Linked DNA regions of Homo sapiens: regions 1, 2, 4, 5, 6 and 7 are each linked to region 3. The links are contacts of gene promoters, found by promoter capture Hi-C in blood cells and fetal thymus (Javierre and others, 2016). All regions are on one chromosome and are shown on one strand. Each heading gives the region's core, a stretch centred on a gene start or on the middle of the fragment in contact. The rest is flanking DNA. Distances are from core to core; before and after follow the strand shown. Region 1 holds the start of INO80B (INO80 complex subunit B). Region 2 overlaps STAMBP (STAM binding protein). Region 3 holds the start of BOLA3 (bolA family member 3). Region 4 overlaps CCDC142 (coiled-coil domain containing 142). Region 5 overlaps AUP1 (AUP1 lipid droplet regulating VLDL assembly factor). Region 6 overlaps C2orf81 (chromosome 2 open reading frame 81). Region 7 overlaps STAMBP (STAM binding protein).

Region 1 (2,700 bases), core at 169-2,668, 310 kb after region 3:
TCCTGGATTCCCCAATATAATTGCTCATTGATTCTTGATAATTTTATCACTGAAATGTAAGAGACTTTTCACTGCTGTTACCTTGCTCAGACACTCATATATATTTAGATATATGTATATAGGTGTTATTTTCTAATTATAAACGTGATATATATTGGCTGTAAGAAAATACATTACATACCTAAATAGTGAAAGTTCCTCAACCCCAACTTCTACAGTTAACCAACATTAACAGGTATACATTCCTCAATTTTTTCTATGTATTTGCTAGTATATTATGCTTTTAAAAATCAGATCACATAATCTTGAAATTTACTTTTTTTTTTTTTTCTTTTTTTTGAGACGGAGTCCCGCTCTGTCGACCAGGCTGGAGTGCAGTGGCGCGATCTCGGCTCACTGCGACCTCCACCTCCCGGGTTCAAGCGATTCTCCTGCCTCAGCCTCCCGAGTAGCTGGGACTACAGGCGCGTGCCATCACGCCGGCTAATTTTTTTTTTTTTTTTTGTATTTTTAGTAGAGACGGGGTTTCATCGTATTAGCCAGGATGGGAAATTTACTTTTCTTATTTCGTGTATCAGCACATACAAACCTACCTGTTTTTATGTCTTTTTTAAAATGAGGTAAAATATACACGTTTTATACAAAATTCAAAAGGCACAAGAGGGTATAATCATAAAAAAATAGGTCGCCATCCACCCTTGTTCTCTAGATGCTCATCAGCAAATGACTCTTACCAATTTCCTAGATAGCCTTCTGGGGCGCCTCATTTCTTTTCCAAGCTGCTTAACATCCCACTGTATGGATACACCAATTCATCAGGACACTTAGATTGTTTAAATTCTGTGTCAATCTCATTAATTACTTACAACTCAACTTTTCTTAGCAATATGGTGTTCCGCATTGTACAGCTGCACCGTAATTCATTTATTCATTTCCCTACTTATGAAAATTGAAGTTTAAATACCTAAACTGCATCTGCTCTTAGGGCACTCGTGCTGTTTAACCATTTCGGCCATTTTGTCATCAATATAGTTTATGTATTCCTCCACCCAACTGTGAGTTCCTCAAGGACAGGGGCGGTGTTCATATTCATCTTTGCATCCTCTTAGACTAGCTTCCCGCACTTGGTCTAGTGTATACATTCACCAAACTTGTGTTCAATAATTGACTCATCCGCGCTGAGTTCTGAAAGCTAGCGTGGGGAGGCGGAGCCAGGGGAAAGCCCTGCCCATTTGGGCTGTCCCGACCTCAGAGGGACCGGAACGTTCGTTGGAAGGATCCTCGTTTCTCAGGGACGATTTTGGACGCGAAGCGTGCCCCGCACAAGGATGGTTGCCATGAACCGGAAGTAACTGGTTGTTTTGCTGGCTCCAGTTTTTCCGCGGGGCGGAAAAGGCGTGTCTGCGTGTGTCCCAACCATTTCTAGTCCCCTTTCCTCGCAGGACCTCATGAGTAAGCTGTGGCGGCGTGGGAGCACCTCTGGGGCTATGGAGGCCCCTGAGCCGGGTAAGCGCGAATAGATCAAGCAATTTAGGTCGTGTTAGAAAAGAAGTCCCGTTCTTGCTCCTCGGAGAGTCCAGGGTACTTCGGCCACAGGTGGCAAGGAGAAAGGCGGTGCTGTTGTTATGGTAACAGCGAGTACTGCGGGAAGGGTGGGATCCAGTAGGGGCTTAGGTTATTCAGGGCTTCCCCTGCCACCCTCCGGCCAAACACTGTCGACAGGCTTTCCTTCCACAGGAGAAGCCCTGGAGTTGAGCCTGGCGGGTGCCCATGGCCATGGAGTGCACAAGAAAAAACACAAGAAGCACAAGAAGAAACACAAGAAGAAACACCATCAGGAAGAAGACGCCGGGCCCACGCAGCCGTCCCCTGCCAAGCCTCAGCTCAAACTCAAAATCAAGCTTGGGGGACAAGTCCTGGGGACCAAGAGGTGAGGCCAAGAGGGTCATAGTTTTATAAGGGGAACTTTAGGAGCAGAGATAGTAGTTAGAAGCCGACTGGGCTTTCTAGAAGACCGAATGGACACTGTGACTTCAGGGTCCAGATTTAGGCAGCAAGAGTCTAAGAGGGTGGGGAAAGTTGGGTGTAGCTACGGAGTAGGAGGAGGAGACGCTTGCTCATTTTAAAGAGTAGTGTTGCTTCTCTGCAGTGTTCCTACCTTCACTGTGATCCCAGAGGGGCCTCGCTCACCCTCTCCCCTTATGGTTGTGGATAATGAAGAGGAACCTATGGAAGGAGTCCCCCTTGAGCAGTACCGTGCCTGGCTGGGTGAGGATCTGGAGGTGGGGAAACTGGGTTTCTTATTATACCCGCCTAAAGAAAGAAGGTTGGTTCTGAAATGGGTTAGGATTTTCCATGTCCCAGTATTAACTCAGCCAAATTAGGGTGCCCCATCTGAACAATTCTGTTTTTCTTTCTCCAACTTCCTTCCCAGATGAAGACAGTAATCTCTCTCCCTCTCCACTTCGGGACCTATCAGGAGGGTTAGGGGGTCAGGAGGAAGAGGAGGAACAGAGGTGGCTGGATGCCCTGGAGAAGGGGGAGCTGGATGACAATGGAGACCTCAAGAAGGAGATCAATGAGCGGCTGCTTACTGCTCGACAGGTATGTTGGTTCATTGTTTATTCACTCACCAAATGTATACAGTATTGAGAACTCTCCACGACCCACGCACTTTGCGTGGCATTGGGGATATCGATA
Region 2 (2,700 bases), core at 26-2,525, 300 kb before region 3:
TTCAGCCTGCTAAAGGTAGTAAATATTAATATGTATCTTGGCTTTTGGGGCTAAGATGAGAGTTCTACTGAATCATCTATCAGTCTCTAAAATATAAGAAATATGTCTTATTTATCTTAATAGATTCTTCAGGACTTTATGGTTTGAACAAATGAATCTGTATTTCTTTTAAATATAGACTTCAAGGAAACTGTTTTATATCTTTCTTTTTTTTTTTTTTTTTCCAAATAGAGATAGGATCTCCCTCTGTCACCCAGGCTGGAGTGCAGTGGTGTGATCAAAGCTCACTGTAACCTCAGACTTCTGGGATCGAGAGATCCTCCTGCCTCAGCCTCCCAAGCAGCTGGGACTACAGATGCATACCACCACACCCAGCTAATTTTTGTGTTTTTTTATGTTTTGTTATATATGTTTGTGTATGTATATATATATATGTATATATATATATAAATTAAAAAATATAAATAGAGACAAGGTCTCACCCTGTTACCCAGGCTGGTCTTGAACTCCTGGGCTCAAGCAGTCTTCCTGCCTCGGTCTCCCAAAGTGCTGGGATTACAGGCATGAGCCACCGCACCCAGCCTCTTTTATATCTTCTTCATGAACCCAAAAGGAAGCTTTTTAAAGAACCATTTTTATTTTAGAGTCCATCCCTGCCTTGAGGAGCCTTATCAAGTTGGATCAAAATGAAACTTGTGTGCCTAATATAGAACTGAAGGATGAGGACTTATCTTTAGAAAGTTTGTTTTGGTGGGGATCATCTTTTTTCTTTATTGAGGATTCTTCTTCCAATTACTTCTGCCCCATGGGCAGTAAGTAGAAAAGAGTTTATCCCAATTACAATATAATATTTTAGAGCTATCAGCAAGCTACCTTCAATTTATTTTTTTATCTCAGTTTCTGTGTATTACAACTTAATTCTGTTAAAAGACATCTTTGTTCAGAATCCCTCCAGTAGTTCTAGACATTCCAGAATCCGTATGGAAGAAGTATGGTGTAGTGGTTAAAAGAATAGGCTCTGGAGCCAGCCTGCTCATACTGAAATTCTGAATCTGCCACTTTCTTTCTGTGACAGGTTACTGGACTTTTATTTATTTTCACTGCCCCTAAGTAGATGTCTTAAATGTTAGAGATTTGTGAATTAATTAAGTTTATTCTCCCCACTGAGCTTTAGAGCCATGGACAAGAACCAAAAGATGAAATCTAGCATCTTATATTTACCTAAGCACTTTTCATCAAAGACAGTGCATGCTAACATGTAATATGCACATACTACATGCATAGAACACATGCACTAAGTATTTCCATGCATTTTTGTATGATGCAAAGTAGTATTCTTCTTTGAAGGAACACGAATCCCAAAGGAAAAAAGCCAAAGTTAAAGGTTACATAAGAGCTAGAAGGAGTAAGGAAACATGGTTTTCTCTTGCTTCCTGCCCATGGCTGCCAAACGGTTCTCTGAAGACTGCTATGTGACAGAAGCCCTTTCCTTTGAAAACCTGTCACGTCACAACAAGAAAAAGATCTCTTTCTTTGGAGGTACATTTTTGGGCACAAGAAAGGCTTTTTAAAATTTTTTTGGCCATCTTTTTCATTGTAGGAGTCTGGTGCTTGCTGCCTAGTTTGGGAGTAGAGGAAAAGACTCTGGCTCTTTAGGGGGATAGAGATGGGAAAGGAGCATGGCCCAGCTGGGTGTATTAGCTCTCCCTCCGCTGCACTTCTGGAACCTTTCATATAAGGGCTTCAGGATAAGGGGGTTGCATAGCTTTAGGGTCTTATGGACATTTGGACCATTTGCTTCATAATCATTTTGAACTGTTTCCTTAGGCTCTTTATTGAGAAACTACCAAAACATCGAGATTACAAATCTGCTGTCATTCCTGAAAAGAAAGACACAGTAAAGGTGGGTCTTCACTTTCATTGTTGCCCATCTAAAAGCTTCAGAGCAGCACAGACTGACTTCAAGATAAAAGTAGTAGTCTCTGCATCTGAGTACCAGATCCTGCAATAGGAGATAAGGCCATTTCACCACAACAGTTCTGAAGTAGCAGGTATGGTACAGTAGGGGGTATTTTAAATCATTTTGGGAAATGTTGCAGTCACCAACTTGACTTAAGTCTTCTTTTGGATTCTGTAATTTTCTGGCATTGTTCTAATTCTATTTTCTGTTTTGTGTCTCAGAAATTAAAGGAGATTGCATTTCCCAAAGCAGAAGAGCTGAAGGCAGAGCTGTTAAAACGATATACCAAAGAATATACAGAATATAATGAAGAAAAGGTCAGTATATAACAGCTAAGAAGAAAATTATTTTGCTTTTTTAGGCTGTGCCCTGGGATTGTAATATGACATTTCAATATATCCTGTGCTTTTAATGTGCTGTTTCACCTTTTTTGGGCAAAGACCAGAAACTCAAAAAAGTAGAACACCAGTGGTTAGGCTCAGGGTTGTAACACAGATATAGCCTATTTGTCGAAGAGAGTGACTTGAGGGACAGAAAATCTGTCGCCTACCTGCTATGTCTAGAGTGAGAATCATAAGAACAATGAACATTCTCTCCAAAACATAGGTTTTTAGATCAGAGAATTTGAGGGTTGGATTCACATTTGGTTATACCTGAAGCTATTTATAAGAATTGACTTTTCAAGCTATTTTTTTTTTTTTTTTTTGAGACAGTCTCACTCTGTCGCCTAGGCTGGAGTG
Region 3 (2,700 bases), core at 80-2,579:
GCACCGGGCACTGGTCCCTGACTAGACGTGGATGACAGGTTGGAGGACACTAGGGCCGTTCATGGGTGCTGGTGCTGAAGGTCCCACCCCTCTACCCCTCAGTCCTTCCTGATAGCTCAGAGCAGGGTCCTGTGTCACAGAATCTCAGAGCACCTCCTTTAAAATGAGCTGTGCACTGGCTCTCTCACCACTGGTCTTATAGGCCAGGAATGAGTCCGGCAGCATCCCAGAGCTGACCCCAGGGCAGGCCCTCAGAGGCACTTGGTGCTGGATGAATGAATGAGCAGGGGAAGAACTAGTCAATTAGGGACAGAAATGCAAGACAGGAGAAAGGTCCAGAGTGTGATTGTCTGCCTGCTGTGTGGAGGGACAGAAACTCGATGTTGAGAGGCTGGACAGGATTGCCAGGAGTGAGGGTGGGGTGGAGCTGCTTCTGGGGGCAGAATCTTGAGGGTAAAGGCAGAGAGTAACCAGATGGCAGACAGAATCGGCAGCTACTAAGGGGTGAGAGAGGTGAGCGTTGCAGAATCCTTGGGAGAAGCCTTTCATCTTAGCGGATCTGTGGGCAGCGGCCTTTAGTGGAACAATCAACTGACATCCCCAGATGATCACTGTCCACGCTGAAAGTCACCGCAGTGGAAGAACTTCTCTTCATGCACAGGGCAGGCAGGTTCAGAACCAGGGGAGAAGGAAAATGAAAGTTAAGAGAAAGAATGGTATGAGCTGAAGCAAAGGATGGTTCAGAAAGGGGGAGAGATTAGGAGAGCGCGTGGGAAGTGCCCCCTGCTTGGGTTCTGCTCCGGTAGTGTGGGATTTGGAGGAGGATCAAGGTCAGAGGCCCAGTCGACCTTCCCAAGGCCCCGGCCCCGCTGCAGTCCCTCGCACCCACGCCTTGACTCTGGGCTATGACTCCTGTCTTCTGCTCGGTAAACCAATCCTTTTTTTTTCCTGTGCCCGCAGTATTATGACTGTTCATGTGTCTGTCCGCCTGACCTCCAACCTCCACCCAGCTCGGGAGCTCCCCTAGAGCGCGCCAGAGCTTGAAATTTCGAATGCCGTTGTCGCTGAGTGAATGAATGAATGAAAGAATGAATGAGAGAAAGGAAGAGGAGCCCCCCATTGCCAGTGCCGCGCGCGCCCTCCGGGAGCCAGTCCTCAAGCCCCGACAGCCGCCGGCCCCGCGGTCCCTCCGCAGCTCCCGTCCCGGGGAGAGCAGCCCCGACCCTGCCCACGCTCACCCCGCGGATCCCGCGGAGGAGAGGCGCTGCCGCGGCCGGGCTCCATGCAGCCATGCCCGGCCGACGTGACCCGCCGCCCGAGGTCACTGTATGCCCGAAAGACGCGGAGCGGGGGACCGAGAGCCGCCGCCGTGGGAGAGGCCGCCCCCTGCCGCCCGGAGGCCGTCAGCCTCCCGGCCCCGCCCCGGAGGCCTCCGGTCGCCTGGCTCCGGCCCCACCCCGCCATCCCCTGGCCCTGGCTGACTCGCCACCCCCGACACTGCAGCGCCTGCCGACCTCGGGGCCCCGCCCTCTGCCTTCGCTCGCGCCGCTCTCCTTCAGTCTCCCCAGGGCCTGTTTCATGGATAGGGTCCCCTTGCCCGCGTGAAAGTCTCATTCCTCCTCAGCTCAGAAACACTCCAAGGTCTCGGCGCCCTATACTGGCCTTCCCTCATCCGAATACCCCTCGTGCTCCTGATGTACTTTTCCATTCCCACTCCCTACTCTGGCAGTCTAGCTTCTAAGCTGAGGAGTTTGGCCTTCGCTCCAGGTGCGGGGACTCGTGGAAGGATTTGATTCGCGCTTGAGAAAGATCGCTCCGCTCCTGTAAGGAAGAGAGCGTGTAGGGGCTGCAACCAGAGACACAGTCAGAAGCTCCGAGGCTACCGCGATGGTCCAGGTGAGAATGGAGGGGCCTAACTAAACCAGTGGCGGGAGGGATGGAAGAATGAACTGAGACACTTGGGAGGTGAATGGAATCGAGCGACTGCATGTGGAGGTGTGAGTGGGAAGGTATCTGAGATGACTCCAGTTTCTGGCTTGGACAATGACTTGGATGGAGGGTTAGGTGGGGGCTGAGCAGAGTCCACGAACAGTTCTTAATTTGCCTGAGTTTAAGGTGCCACAGGACACAGCCTAACAGAGGCCCAGGTTGGAGCCATGGACCATGGAGTCATGAGAATGGAAGGGAAGCTGACGCCATGTGGGATGGGGTAGAACTGTCCGCAAATTCGTCCCGCCTCTGGAGTCTTCAGACCAGTCAAGGCCGAAATTCAACCAAGCCTCTCCTCTCTCTAGCTGTTATTTGTTTGCAGCACGCGGTCTGGTGGCACCCTGCAGGATTTACCAGCTTTTTGCCAACATTCTGGCCTATGCAATCAATACGTCCCTTCAGCGTTGCACTTGGATGGATTGGACCTATAGTTGTTATATATGGATATTGTCTAATTTATTTATTACAGTATTAACTGACTCCTATGTTCTGGCCTTCAGAATTTCTCCTTTGGATCAATTACTAGCCTGTCTTACATTTTCTGCTTCATTCTTTTAAAATGTTTAGAGATGATTTGCTAAGTTTTCTTCATTGCTGTCAATGATGCAATTTAAACTGTCAAAAAAATTTTTTCTCAAGCAGGGTAGTAATGGTGAACCATTCCCTTGCTATTCAGACAGCATGGTTTAGATGAGGCGCACCTATCCCCAG
Region 4 (2,700 bases), core at 92-2,591, 330 kb after region 3:
CCAAGTAGGTGGGACTACAGGAGTGCACCACCACACCCAGCTAATTTTTGTATTTTTAGTAAAGACAAGGTTTTGCCATGTTGGTCAGGCTGGTCTCAAACTCCTGATCTCAGGTGATCGGCCTGCCTCTGCCTGCCAAAGTGCTGGGATTACAGATGTGAGCCACTAAGCCACTACACCCAGCCTACAATGATCTTTTGGTTATCACCTACAAAAGGAAGACAAGAACTGTATGTAAACCAGAAGCAATGACTATTTGAATGTTCTGAGACTCAGGAAGTTTTGGAATGTCCTTACATTGAAAGGCATTATTATATATTATTATTCTTCACAGCCCACTCCAGAGCAATATAACCCATAAAGCAAGAAAAGGCCTATATGCTGGGTTTGTTTCTTTGGTTTGATAGGTTGTTTTTGGAGGGAGAGAACACAGCAATAAAGCTGGTTTCTGCTCTACAGCCCATCTTGAGGGAGAGGAACCCCAGTAAATGTGGTTAATGGCAGCTGCTCTGTAAAGAAATGGTAGATGCCAGGGAGCCTGAAGACAGGATAGACCTGGGGGCGGCCAGACATGGAGTGGAGCCCATATGGCTCCTGGCACATCTGACAACCTGTCTAAATCCAAAATCTTCCTCTCTTCTCCAGTAAATGCAAGCCCCCTTCTCCTCCCTTATTTATGTCAAGGAAATTGCCCTTTTGTCAACGGACTTTTGTTAGGAGCCTCTGTACTCAACACTGAGGGAATACAAGGTGCAGAGTGTGTGACAGTCTCTCCCCCACCCACTGGGATCTTATAGTCCAAACAGGAAGAAAACTCACAATGCCTCTTTTTTTTTTTTTGAGACCAAGTTTCGCTCTTATTGCCCAGGCTGGAGTGCAGTTGCGCAATCTCAGATCACTGCAACCTCTGCCTCCTGGGTTCAACCGATTCTCATGCCTCAGCCTCTGAGCAGCTGGGATTACAGGCACCCGTCACCATGCCTGGCTAATTTTTGTATTTTTAGTAGAGATGGGGTTTTACCATGTTGGCCAGGCTGGTCACAAACTCCTGACCTCAAGTTATCCACCCATCTCGGCCTCCCGAAATGCTGGGATTACACCCTTCTGCTCTTAAAATGTCACCCCCTCACTTATGAGGTAAAGCGCAAATTGTTGGGGCTGGTGTTCATGCCCTCCACAATTTGATGCCAAATTGCTTACTACCCTACCCCACACCCAACCCCAGTGAACATACCCACAAAAGGAACCTCTGCTCTGGTAAGGCCACCTCTCTGCTACCCCCACAAGGATCTACAAACTGCCCACTTCCAGTAACCCCAGCCACTCCTCTGAGGCTTCCCAGCCACCATCTCCAGCCATAGGCCATGTATGGAGCGTTCTTTAACCACATGCCCACTATAGCCTTCCTTCCTCAGGGCTCTATGACCGTCACTGTGTGCAGTACTCATGATGAGCCTGCTCTGGGGCATGTTGAGTTTAAGTAGACAGCAGTAAACTGAGGTAGAAATGCCCAACAGGCAAATGCAGATGTTTAACTAGAACTCTGGGAGCCAGGCTGGGTGTGGAGGCTCATGCCTGTAATCCCAGAACTTTGGGAGGCCAAGGCGGTGGATTGCTTGAGCTCAAGAGTTCAAGAACAGGGCACATGTTCTCAGATCTCCTGAGGGCTATGTCACGAGCCAAACTTCTAATTAAAAAAAAAATATATATATATATAAATAGATATAATATAAATAAAATATATATAGATATAATATAAATAAAATATATATATATACTTTTTTTTTTTTGAGTCTCACTCTGTTGCCCAGGCTGGAATGCAATGGCACGCTCTCGACTCACTGGAACCTCCGCCTCCCGGATTCAAGTGATTCTCCTGCCTCAGCCTCCCGAGTAGCTGGGATTACAGGTGTACACCACAATGTCCAGCTAATTTTTGTATTTTTAGAAGAGACAGGGTTTCACCATGTTGGCCAGGCCGGTCTTGATCTCCTAACCTCAGATGATCCACCTGCCTCGGTTTCCCAAAGTGCTGGGATTACAGGTGTGAGCCACTGCACCTGGACAAAAAATTTTTTTGTTTTCTGTTTTTTTTTTGAGACAGAATTTTTGTTCTTGTTGCCCAGGCTGGAGTGCAATGGCGCTATCTCGGCTCACTGCAACTTCCGCCTCCTAGGTTCAAGCGATTCTCCTGCCTCAGCCTCAGAAGTAGCTAGGATTACAGGCACCTGCCACCATACCGGCTACTTTTTTGTATTTTTAGTAGAGACGGGGTTTCACCACGTTGGGCAGGCTGGTCTTGAACTCCTGACCTCAGGCGATCCACCCACCTTGGCCTCCCAAAAAAGTTTTTTAAAAAGATTTTTAAAAAGGGTTCAAGACCAGCCTGGGCAACATGGCAAAACCTTGTCTCTACAAAAAAAAAAATTTTTTTAAGTAGCTGGGCATTGGCCGGGTGTGGTGGCTCACACCTATAATCCCAGCACTTTGGGAGGCTGAGGTGGGTGGATCACCTGAGGTCAAGGGTTCCAGACCAGCCTGGCCAACATGGTGAAACCCATCTCTACTAAAAATACAAAAACTAGCTGGGCGTGGTGGCAGGCGCCTGTAATCCCAGCCACTCAGGAGGCTGAGGCAGGAGAATCACTTGAACCTGAGAGGTGGAGGTTGCAGTGAGTAGAGATCACGCCACTGCACTCC
Region 5 (2,700 bases), core at 152-2,651, 380 kb after region 3:
ATTCCATTCTCCAATTTGCCACATCCTATTAATTGTCCTCTAACCCCCTCACCTTCTTGCGTATTCATATAGTGCTTGCTTGCGCTCCTGCAGGCTCTCCTGCCGGGCCCAGGAAGACTTGGCAAATGTTAGGGCTGTTGGCTGAGGGGTCACCGGGCCAGAGCTGGGAAACTGAGGTGATCACAATGTCAGAGGGCTTGCGGAGTCATCATCATTAAACACGCATCGAATGCCTACTTTGCAAGAGAGGCACTATGCTAGGGTCTCAGGATCAAAAAAGAAAGGTCAGGGATAAGGGAGTACATAGCCTGCCCCCAACTCACCCCAACACTTGGATCTGACCATTTCCTGGGTCTCACCTTGGAGGCAGAGGCTGTGGGTAGGGACTGAGTTCCCTTGGTGATGTCTTCAGGCATGAAAGCTACGGCCCCCTCAAGCAGATTAGTGATAGTCAAGTCTACACAGCCAGTCTTGGCTGGGGAGAAAAGAGAAGGGAGTCCACTCCCTACTTACTTTCTTCCTTCACAACCCACTTTTCCTCCCTGTGCCCATCTCCCAGTGTGGGGCCACCCTTTCCCATACCCAGGTCTCTCTGGATGACACCCAATGGCACATGGGGCAAAACTTCCTTGACTCTCTGAGCCAGAGTTGCCAGTTGCACATCAGGAGAAGGACCAGGGGAGGGAGGGAAAGAAGACTGGGCTGTGGAAAAAGGAAAAAAAGAAAAAAGAAATTCTGGTAAGTAGAGAACTAGAAGGAGAGGCTAACTAGCACAGAAATAGGGGAGGAATCACAGTAGGCCGAAAAAAAAAAACCCCAAAAGCTGTAATGTATAGAGACCACATACCTGACTGGGGGCGCAATCTGGGGTGTCTTTGTCGCTTCATGTGCTCTGCTTTGTCAGCTGGAGTGAGCCGTGTCCCTGTCTGGCCCAATTCCTTGGCCACCAGCTAGGGAGAATTGGAAGACTGGAAGTGTCAAGATCTCAAGCTTTCCTCCCTCTCCTCCTAAGCAGGGACCCCGCCTCCACCCTGTCTGTGCACCCGACCACCTGTTGTACACGGAGTGCAAACTCCTCATTCGCTTCCCCTAGTTGGCGATGAACAGGACGAAGCCACCTGCAAAGAAACAATCCAGGGCTATGTTGTGGGCACCCAGGGTAGAGGCTGTCACCATTCCCCACTTTGGTACCTCTTTGCATGGTGGGTGGGAAAATAGTAAATACTGTAAATACTTTGTGTTGCCTCTGTGGTAGAACCTTGATATAAAGATCTACAAATGGACAGGGCAGAGGCCACTAATTCCTTGACCTTGAGGTGAGCCTCTCCCCAGCGACCAAAATGTGAGGACAGTTAATACCTTACTTGATACACCGTGAAAGGGACGAAAAGTGACCACAGCAGTTCTGAGACCCAGGAGGCATCTGACACCGTCTGAGGGGAGGGCATGAGATGAGGCCTAAGCCAGGGCCAGGGATGGGAAATTTCCCCTTCAAGCCCCAGAGATTCCCTGTTCAACACACACTCACCACAGAGACCAGGGGTCTCTGAACTTGCAGGGTAAGAGGTTGTACCACATCTTGGATAGAAAATGGCCAGGAACTAGAAGAGGAAGGAGAAAGTAGGATGGGAATCCAGCCAGCCTAGTCAGCAGCTCACACCTGCCTTATAACAGGCAACTGTCAAACTCTACAAGCACATAATTGAAGAATGAAGGGATTCAGGAGAAAGAACTTAAAGTGGACAGAAAGGAAATGAACTGGAGATGATGGGGTCTAAGGGCCGAAGAAAGTTGTAAAAACTCAAGGGCCCACAAGCTTGACCACCTACCCAGCTGGCGCCCCATACCTGTGCTAAACCCACCTGAAGCGCAGGAGCCCCTCCCGGCCATTGGTGGCCTCTTCCTCAGGGAATAGCAGCAGAGGAGTGGGGGGAAGCCTCGTGGAAGCACAGAATCTCTTGAGTGACTCCACCAACTCCCCCCGCCCATTCATCTCCATGAAGCCCCGAGACCAGCACACAAAGCTGGGGGGACTATTGAGTAGAGGCTGGGAACCAGGAGAAGAGAAAGCAAGAAGAAAAATATTGAGGAAAATGAAAAAAAAAACTGACATGTTGGGTAGAGGATCGGGGTTAGGGGTAAGGCTCAGTATCCTCCATGGGGAACGCGAGTGGGGACAGGGGGGCCTTCAGCTGGGCCCCAGGGAACCGCCCCGTGGCGCTCTCGGCCTCGCTCTCACTCACGGTGCTACAGGTGGTAAGCAAATTGACTATGTTGTGGTCGAAAGGTGTCACATGGTTGGAAATGAGGACCCTGACACTGTGATCCCGGAGTCCGGAGTCCTCCTGCCGGGCCACGAGCCCTAGCACCGCACACATGGTCCGCACTACGAATCTGGGGACACAGGAGGTGGTGACTGTGTGGCCTCGGGCCAGACCCAGCTCTGACACTCCCCGAACGCCCGCGTCGGAACCTGCGAAGGACGCTGTCTGGCAGCGCGCAGCTGACCAGGAAGACGTGGATCCCGAGAAAGAGGCGCAGGACGAGGAGGCAGAACCCGACTGGCGCGTAGAGCAGCAGCACGAGCAGTAGGAAGCAGTCACCCGGAAGCCTGGGGGCGAGAGGCGAAGTGGTCAGGCGCCGAAGGCCGAGAGCACGCGGGGATCGGTCTCTTCCCGCCGGGTCTCTTACCGGTGCGAG
Region 6 (2,700 bases), core at 128-2,627, 270 kb after region 3:
AATGTGGATGAACATTTGGCGCTGCTAGCAGCAGCAATGACAGATGTCAAAGAATGGAACATTGAACCAAAAACAAAACAACTGTCCAGAGGTAGTTTGTGAACAAAGGAAAAATGGAACCAGAACCTGGGGGGGTGGCAGGAGCAGGAGGGCTGGGAGTGGGAAGGGTGAGCTCCTTGTTATTGGTGCCCCATCTGAGGAGAGGAAAATGGCCAAGTGGTAGAAGCAAAGTAGGGTTGGGGGAGCAGCCCCAGCCCACCTCAGGTAGCTGCCACAGGGCTCATGGGCCTCACCTGGACAATAGGTGACTGCATCTCCATCACTGCAATATGTACTCAGATCCCAGGCAGACGGTAAGGGGGCTGGGGCCACTGCAAAGAGGGAGTAGGGGACTCACACCCCTCCCGCTTTCCTGTAGCCAATGGGGGCTGTCCAACCTAGTGCAGGGACTAGGGAAGGTGGGGAAGGATGAAAGGTGTGAGCCTCACGTGGTGACAAAGACAGTTTGGCTGGGGGAATCCTGGGGGCCAGCACCCCCCTCCATTGGCCACACCTGCTGCTGCCAGGACAGTGGAGTGGGGTGTGCCAGAATGGGGGCTTGGGCCCCTTTTAAGACCAGGGGAACCCTCCCAGGCCCCTCTATGGGAAGCCAGAGGCAACAGTGGAGGAGCAGAGAAGTGGCTCCCAAACCAAAAGCCCAGAGAGCAATGTCACCACCAAGGGATCAGGGACGCAGCAGGTGCAGGGTGCGGCTAAGCAGGACATTAGCCTTGTCCAGGAGGGCACATGTGTATGAGTGGGTGGACGGGGGGAGGAGGGGGTAGGGATGGGAAGAGGCCAGGGGAAAAGTCCTCTCCACTCAGCCCATAGGGACCTGCAGCGGCTGGTGTGTTGTGTAGTGTGGTGGTGAAGGTGCAGGTGGAAGATGAGGGTGGTGGCTGGAGGCGGTGGTGATGGTGGGTGTAGGGAAGGGGTGGGGGGTGGGAGGTGGGGGGTTGGGAGCAGATCAAAGCTGTCCAGTCCCAGAAGGAAGCTGCTCCTCCAGTGAGGACTCCTGCGAGATGCCCTTCTCTTCCTCCTTCTCCAGTTTTTTGGGTCTTCCCCTTGGTTTCCTTCCCAGAGTTGTGGTGGTTTTCCCGGTCTTGGCAGCACCCTTGTTTTTGCTTCCCTTTGGTCGGCCCCGAGGTCTCTTAGGTGTTGGCACTTCGCTGAGCTCCTTCTGACTCCCTACCAGCGCTGTCCTGGGACTCACCGGAGGCTGCTTGCGCGGCCTGCCACGGCCCCGCTTCTCAGTGCCGTCCTTTTTCTGCTTGGAGGCCAAGGGCTGGCTGGACTTCGAGCTCGACTCGCTCATCTTCCCTTCTCTAAGGACTAGTTGGAAAAGTGATGGCTGGGATGGGCGAACTCGGCCGCTGGCCTGCGGTGCATGCTCCGGTTTGCCGGGAGCAGCGGTGCTGGGCGCTGAGGACAGGCCAGTCTCCACCGCAGCCGCCCCTGGTCGCAAATGCGGATGCCTTCCTGGAGCCGCGCCAGCGCCAGAAATAGCCCAGGCTCGGAGTCCCACTTAGAAGAGCACAGCCCCGGCTCAGGGGAGCTTAAAAAGTTCTCTACATTTTTTTTTTTTAACCAACTATTCTTATCTCCATTTTATGGTAATTTACCCAGTATCATACAAGTAGGATGTAGTGAAGTCAGAATGCATTCACATGCAAGTCTGTCTGACTCCAGAGCCTCTCAAAGACATTTGCAACAAATATGAAAAAAGATAAATATCCCCGAGTAAATTAAAAGCTCATATAAAAAAAAAAATGGCCGGGCGCAGTGGCTCACGCCTGTAATCCCAGCACTTTGGGAGGCCGAGGTGGGTGGATCATTTGAGGTCAGGAGTTCGAGACCAGCCTAGCCAACATGGTGAAACCCCGTCTCTACTAATAATACAAAAATTAGCCAGGCATGGTGGTGGGCGCCTGTAATTCCAGCTACTAGGGAGGCTGAGGCACGAGAATCACTTGAACCCGGGAGGCAGAGTTTGCAGTGAGCTGAGATCATGCTACTGAACTCCAGCCTGGGTGACAGAGCGAGACTCTGTCTCAAAAAAGAAAAAAAAAACTAATAAAATAAAAAATAGAAGAAGAAAAATGGCCAGGCACAGTGGCGCACACCCACAGTACCAGCTGCTCGGGAGGCTGAGGCAGGGGGATTGCTTGAGCCCAGGAGTTCAAGTCCAGCTTGGGCTATATTGCAATAAAAATTTAAACTATAAGAAGAAAAACCATTTAAGATCCCAAAGATAAGCAAAGGACATGACATTTCACAAGAGAGGGACTGTAGATGACTAATAAATATAGTATTGACATTCTGATTTCTAGTTCATCAAATTGGAATTATTTTAAAAACAAGAATACTCAGCATTGGCAAAGGTTTAGTGTGATACCATGCTGCAACAGTATGCATGAAGACATTAAAAAATGTTTTCACTTCCTCAACCCTGCAATTTCAGTTCTATAAATACAACCAAAAGGCATTTTCTGAAATGAAGATAAAAATATATTCTCCAACAAATTCTCTGCGGTATTTTTATAATAGCAGAATATTGAAAACATGTCTTTAAAAAGAGAATAAATAATTGACATGCTATATATACTGAAATATTATGCAATGATTAAAGGTAATCTTTTTTTGTTTGTTTGTTTTTGTTTT
Region 7 (2,700 bases), core at 16-2,515, 280 kb before region 3:
TAGCCGTTGGCTTTTACCAAGTCTCTTTGTTTTTAGCATTTCTTCATTCCAGTCTGTTCTGCACACTTTGATCAGGAGAAGCTTCTCACATTCCAGCCATGTTCATGTTTTCTCTCTTGCTCAAAAACCTGCAATAGCTTCCCATTGCTGAAAATCTAAATTTAGCTTTTAGTCAGAACTTTCCACTTAAAGTTCTTACCCCTGGCTATATATTCAAATATCTAGGGAGCAATTTAAAAAATACTGATGCCTGTGTTCTACCCCCCACCAATTAAAGCTGAATCTCTAGGGTGGAGCCTCAGATGTTGTTTCTGCATTTGTCTTTCAAGCTGCTAGAATTCTCAAGTACAACCAGGGTTGACAACCACTGCATTGGTCTTTGATACCTAAGAATTGTGAGCTCTCTTATCCGTCTCTGCCCACCAAAGACATTCAGCCAGGTCAACAACATATCATACGTTGCAACCACATTGATCACAGACTGATCACCAAACTGCTATATTTTCTTTTCTCTTCCTCTAGGCACAAGATATCTTAGTGGCTAGATGGGTGCAGGAAATCAGTCTGTAGATCCCTCTTCATATCTGCTGCAGCCTAGCCACTGCAGAGGCACTCTGCATAGGATGGTCTAAGTGTCTCTGTCTTCATCTTACCTCTGTGGAGGAGACGTGGAATCAAGCCAGCCCACAAGCCCTGAGACTGGATAGGCCGGAGAGAAAGAGGAGTAGCCAGAGCGGTCGGGAAAAGAGGAAAGGAATACTGTGGGTAAAAGGGACAAAGACCACGCAACCTGAGGAAAGACATTGTATTGAAAGGGTAATGACTATTTGGCTAAAGGGACTGACTCCTGGGTTCCCGAGGCTCAAAGACCAGGAGACTTTTCCACTCTTGCAAGCTGCACAAGTACCATACTTAGTGTTCTGGGCTGAGAGGGGAGACAAAAGCATCGTCAGGTTGCCAAACAATGTCCCAGTTGCCCTGGGAGGCACAAACCTACCAAAGTGCCATAGGCCAGGTGCAGAGAGAATCAGAGGAGCTGATTTGCTTGGGGTCAGAGCAGAGCTGGGTTTTTTCAGATGATCACTTTCACATACTCCTTGTTAAATGGGACCAAAGGGGAAGAAGAAGAAACCCTTAAGCTTTTGTAATATTGTCTTGGGTACCAGATACCATAAAAGGCAGCATGAGAGAAACATTCCCTTGGGCCAGTGTCATGGTGGATTTTCTTGCTTGAGAGGCAAGGATTTCAGCTTTCATTTGGTACCACAGAATTTAAAATTGTAAGTGCCTATCCCTTTTGACTGTTGATGGCTTCTTTGGGGTTTTAGTTACCCCAGTTGAAAGAGAAATTTTTCATATTGGGGTTGAGAAGAATGGAGGCTATTAGGAGCAAAGCTTTAATGAGTGAAAGTCTGGTGAATCCTGCAATTTTGATATGTTTCCAGTGGATTTTGAGAACACAGTTTTAGGACCAGAGTAGATGTTGTTCCCTAGAAAATAGAGTCAGCTATTGATATTGTGCCTCCCATCCCTCATATCTCAGTGTTTTAACCCCACCTGAGTTTGGAGACCAGTTTGTCCAAGGATCTTTCAAACATGTGAGCCCAGAGTAGAACTTCTGAGTCAAGGATCATGTCTTTTTCTGAGGAGCTTTGCTTGGGGCACTGGAAATCCTGTTTAGATCAGGACTATTGGAATATTATCCTCTCCAGGGGAAGTGCCAGGTTGAACATTTAAGGCTTTGCTTCTAGGCCCAGCTATACATTCACCAGCAAATCACTTAACTTCCTAAATTTCTTTAAAATCTGTAAAATGGGATCAGTCTAATATGCCTACCTCAAATGATGACAGAATGACATCTATATGCATATGAGGCCTACGTTAGTTGAAAGATGCTATAAAGATATAAGGGATTTGTTACTTGTCTTTCTTGAAATGTTACAGTTGGGGTGCGGTTGCTTCTATCTTCTGGACCTCTGCCCATTCAGCATACAGCTAGAGGAATCTTTGGGCAGATCCACATTCTTTAGCACTAGCTAGGCTTTGACTCCAAAGCTATCTGGTCTACCTTGATGTTCTGAGCAGGAAAACTGAGGACCTCAAGAACCATTCCAAATTTCTACTCATTCTCCCTAAGACCCAGAGCAGACCCAGGACCTAAAGAAATTACATCATCTCTATTTTCCCTTGGCTCCAGCCCACTCTTGTTTGAACCTCCCACTTTTGTTGTTCCAACTACTTCTTGAGATGAAGGAAGGGCAGAACATTGGCCCTCTTCACTGAAGTCTTCACCCCTTAATCCAGGGTTCAATTTTTAGTTCACCTTAGCCTGTTTGAGATTAGAAGCTGGGCCTTAACTTACAGGTGTGTCCGGCATCATTCAATCAGCCTGTTAGATCCAGAATCCAGCACTGTGACGCTACATAACCATGGGCTCTGTCCTTCCAGTTCCTTTAGTGCCTTCCCTCACTGGTAGGTTCACTCTGAGGGCTTCCTTCCTTGAACTCCAGTGGCAACTATAGTCTGTTTCCCACAATTTGTTGTGTGTGTTTTTTGTTGTTTTGCAGCGTTTTCATATTGTCTTTTATGTAAGTCATGTTTCTGAACTATCGTATAAATTTCATTAGGGTAAGAATCATGTTTGCTTTATGCACTGTGTAACATGCCTTGCAGTCAGTATAGGCACTTAACCTTATTGAT

What was found. Contacts are between HindIII fragments. The CHiCAGO score rates a contact against its expected background, and 5 or more counts as called.
Region 1: a contact is called between the fragment with the promoter of INO80B here and the fragment with the promoter of BOLA3 in region 3, in 11 of 17 cell types (fetal thymus, total CD4 T cells, naive CD8 T cells and 8 more). The highest score is 12.5, in fetal thymus.
Region 2: a contact is called between a fragment that was not itself captured here and the fragment with the promoter of BOLA3 in region 3, in 17 of 17 cell types (activated CD4 T cells, naive CD8 T cells, total CD8 T cells and 14 more). The highest score is 21.2, in activated CD4 T cells.
Region 4: a fragment that was not itself captured here is called in contact with the fragment with the promoter of BOLA3 in region 3 in 1 of 17 cell types (naive CD8 T cells); the score reaches 5.9 in naive CD8 T cells.
Region 5: a contact is called between a fragment that was not itself captured here and the fragment with the promoter of BOLA3 in region 3, in 1 of 17 cell types (non-activated CD4 T cells). The highest score is 5.1, in non-activated CD4 T cells.
Region 6: a contact is called between a fragment that was not itself captured here and the fragment with the promoter of BOLA3 in region 3, in 3 of 17 cell types (activated CD4 T cells, non-activated CD4 T cells and naive CD4 T cells). The highest score is 6.2, in activated CD4 T cells.
Region 7: a contact is called between a fragment that was not itself captured here and the fragment with the promoter of BOLA3 in region 3, in 17 of 17 cell types (activated CD4 T cells, naive CD4 T cells, total CD8 T cells and 14 more). The highest score is 28.6, in activated CD4 T cells.

The regions. Positions count from the first base shown.
Region 1 is chr2:74,453,669-74,456,368 of GRCh38, forward strand. It overlaps INO80B (INO80 complex subunit B), which reads left to right and starts at 1,419. Exons shown (of 5, transcript NM_031288.4): 1 at 1,419-1,506; 2 at 1,738-1,930; 3 at 2,150-2,268; 4 at 2,435-2,604. The coding sequence starts at 1,449. INO80B-WBP1 (INO80B-WBP1 readthrough (NMD candidate)) reads left to right here and starts at 1,355. Exons shown (of 8, transcript NR_037849.1): 1 at 1,355-1,506; 2 at 1,738-1,930; 3 at 2,150-2,268; 4 at 2,435-2,604. RefSeq lists an enhancer at 933-1,522. The HindIII fragment of the contact is 3,309 bases long and covers 1-1,899 here.
Region 2 is chr2:73,842,986-73,845,685 of GRCh38, forward strand. It overlaps STAMBP (STAM binding protein), which reads left to right. Exons shown (of 10, transcript NM_213622.4): 3 at 1,828-1,903; 4 at 2,182-2,277. The region is part of intron 1 of LOC112268419 (a long non-coding RNA gene); the gene reads right to left. Among named protein-coding and RNA genes, the nearest start is that of STAMBP, 15 kb to the left of the region's middle. The HindIII fragment of the contact is 1,321 bases long and covers 616-1,936 here.
Region 3 is chr2:74,146,583-74,149,282 of GRCh38, forward strand. It overlaps BOLA3 (bolA family member 3), which reads right to left and starts at 1,330. Exons shown (of 4, transcript NM_212552.3): 1 at 1,239-1,330. The coding sequence starts at 1,292. It overlaps BOLA3-DT (BOLA3 divergent transcript), which reads left to right and starts at 1,399. Exons shown (of 3, transcript NR_045636.1): 1 at 1,399-1,641; 2 at 1,768-1,896; 3 at 2,116-2,700. RefSeq lists a silencer at 1,071-1,550 and an enhancer at 1,084-1,743. The HindIII fragment of the contact is 11,442 bases long and covers 1-2,700 here.
Region 4 is chr2:74,476,296-74,478,995 of GRCh38, forward strand. All of the region lies in intron 5 of CCDC142 (coiled-coil domain containing 142), which reads right to left. Among named protein-coding and RNA genes, the nearest start is that of MRPL53, 5.0 kb to the left of the region's middle. The HindIII fragment of the contact is 6,387 bases long and covers 1-2,700 here.
Region 5 is chr2:74,526,889-74,529,588 of GRCh38, forward strand. AUP1 (AUP1 lipid droplet regulating VLDL assembly factor) reads right to left here. Exons shown (of 12, transcript NM_181575.5): 1 at 2,692-2,700; 2 at 2,474-2,611; 3 at 2,244-2,394; 4 at 1,863-2,047; 5 at 1,529-1,601; 6 at 1,360-1,433; 7 at 1,052-1,118; 8 at 848-950; 9 at 583-702; 10 at 360-475; 11 at 53-171. It also overlaps a transcript of HTRA2 not described here. Among named protein-coding and RNA genes, the nearest start is that of AUP1, 1.5 kb to the right of the region's middle. RefSeq lists enhancers at 2,262-2,700, 2,264-2,700. The HindIII fragment of the contact is 826 bases long and covers 989-1,814 here.
Region 6 is chr2:74,417,089-74,419,788 of GRCh38, forward strand. The region is part of intron 1 of C2orf81 (chromosome 2 open reading frame 81); the gene reads right to left. It also overlaps the pseudogene HMGA1P8. Among named protein-coding and RNA genes, the nearest start is that of C2orf81, 3.2 kb to the right of the region's middle. The HindIII fragment of the contact is 4,299 bases long and covers 1-2,700 here.
Region 7 is chr2:73,863,822-73,866,521 of GRCh38, forward strand. It overlaps STAMBP (STAM binding protein), which reads left to right. Exons shown (of 10, transcript NM_213622.4): 10 at 1-2,700. Among named protein-coding and RNA genes, the nearest start is that of ACTG2, 28 kb to the right of the region's middle. The HindIII fragment of the contact is 256 bases long and covers 1,138-1,393 here.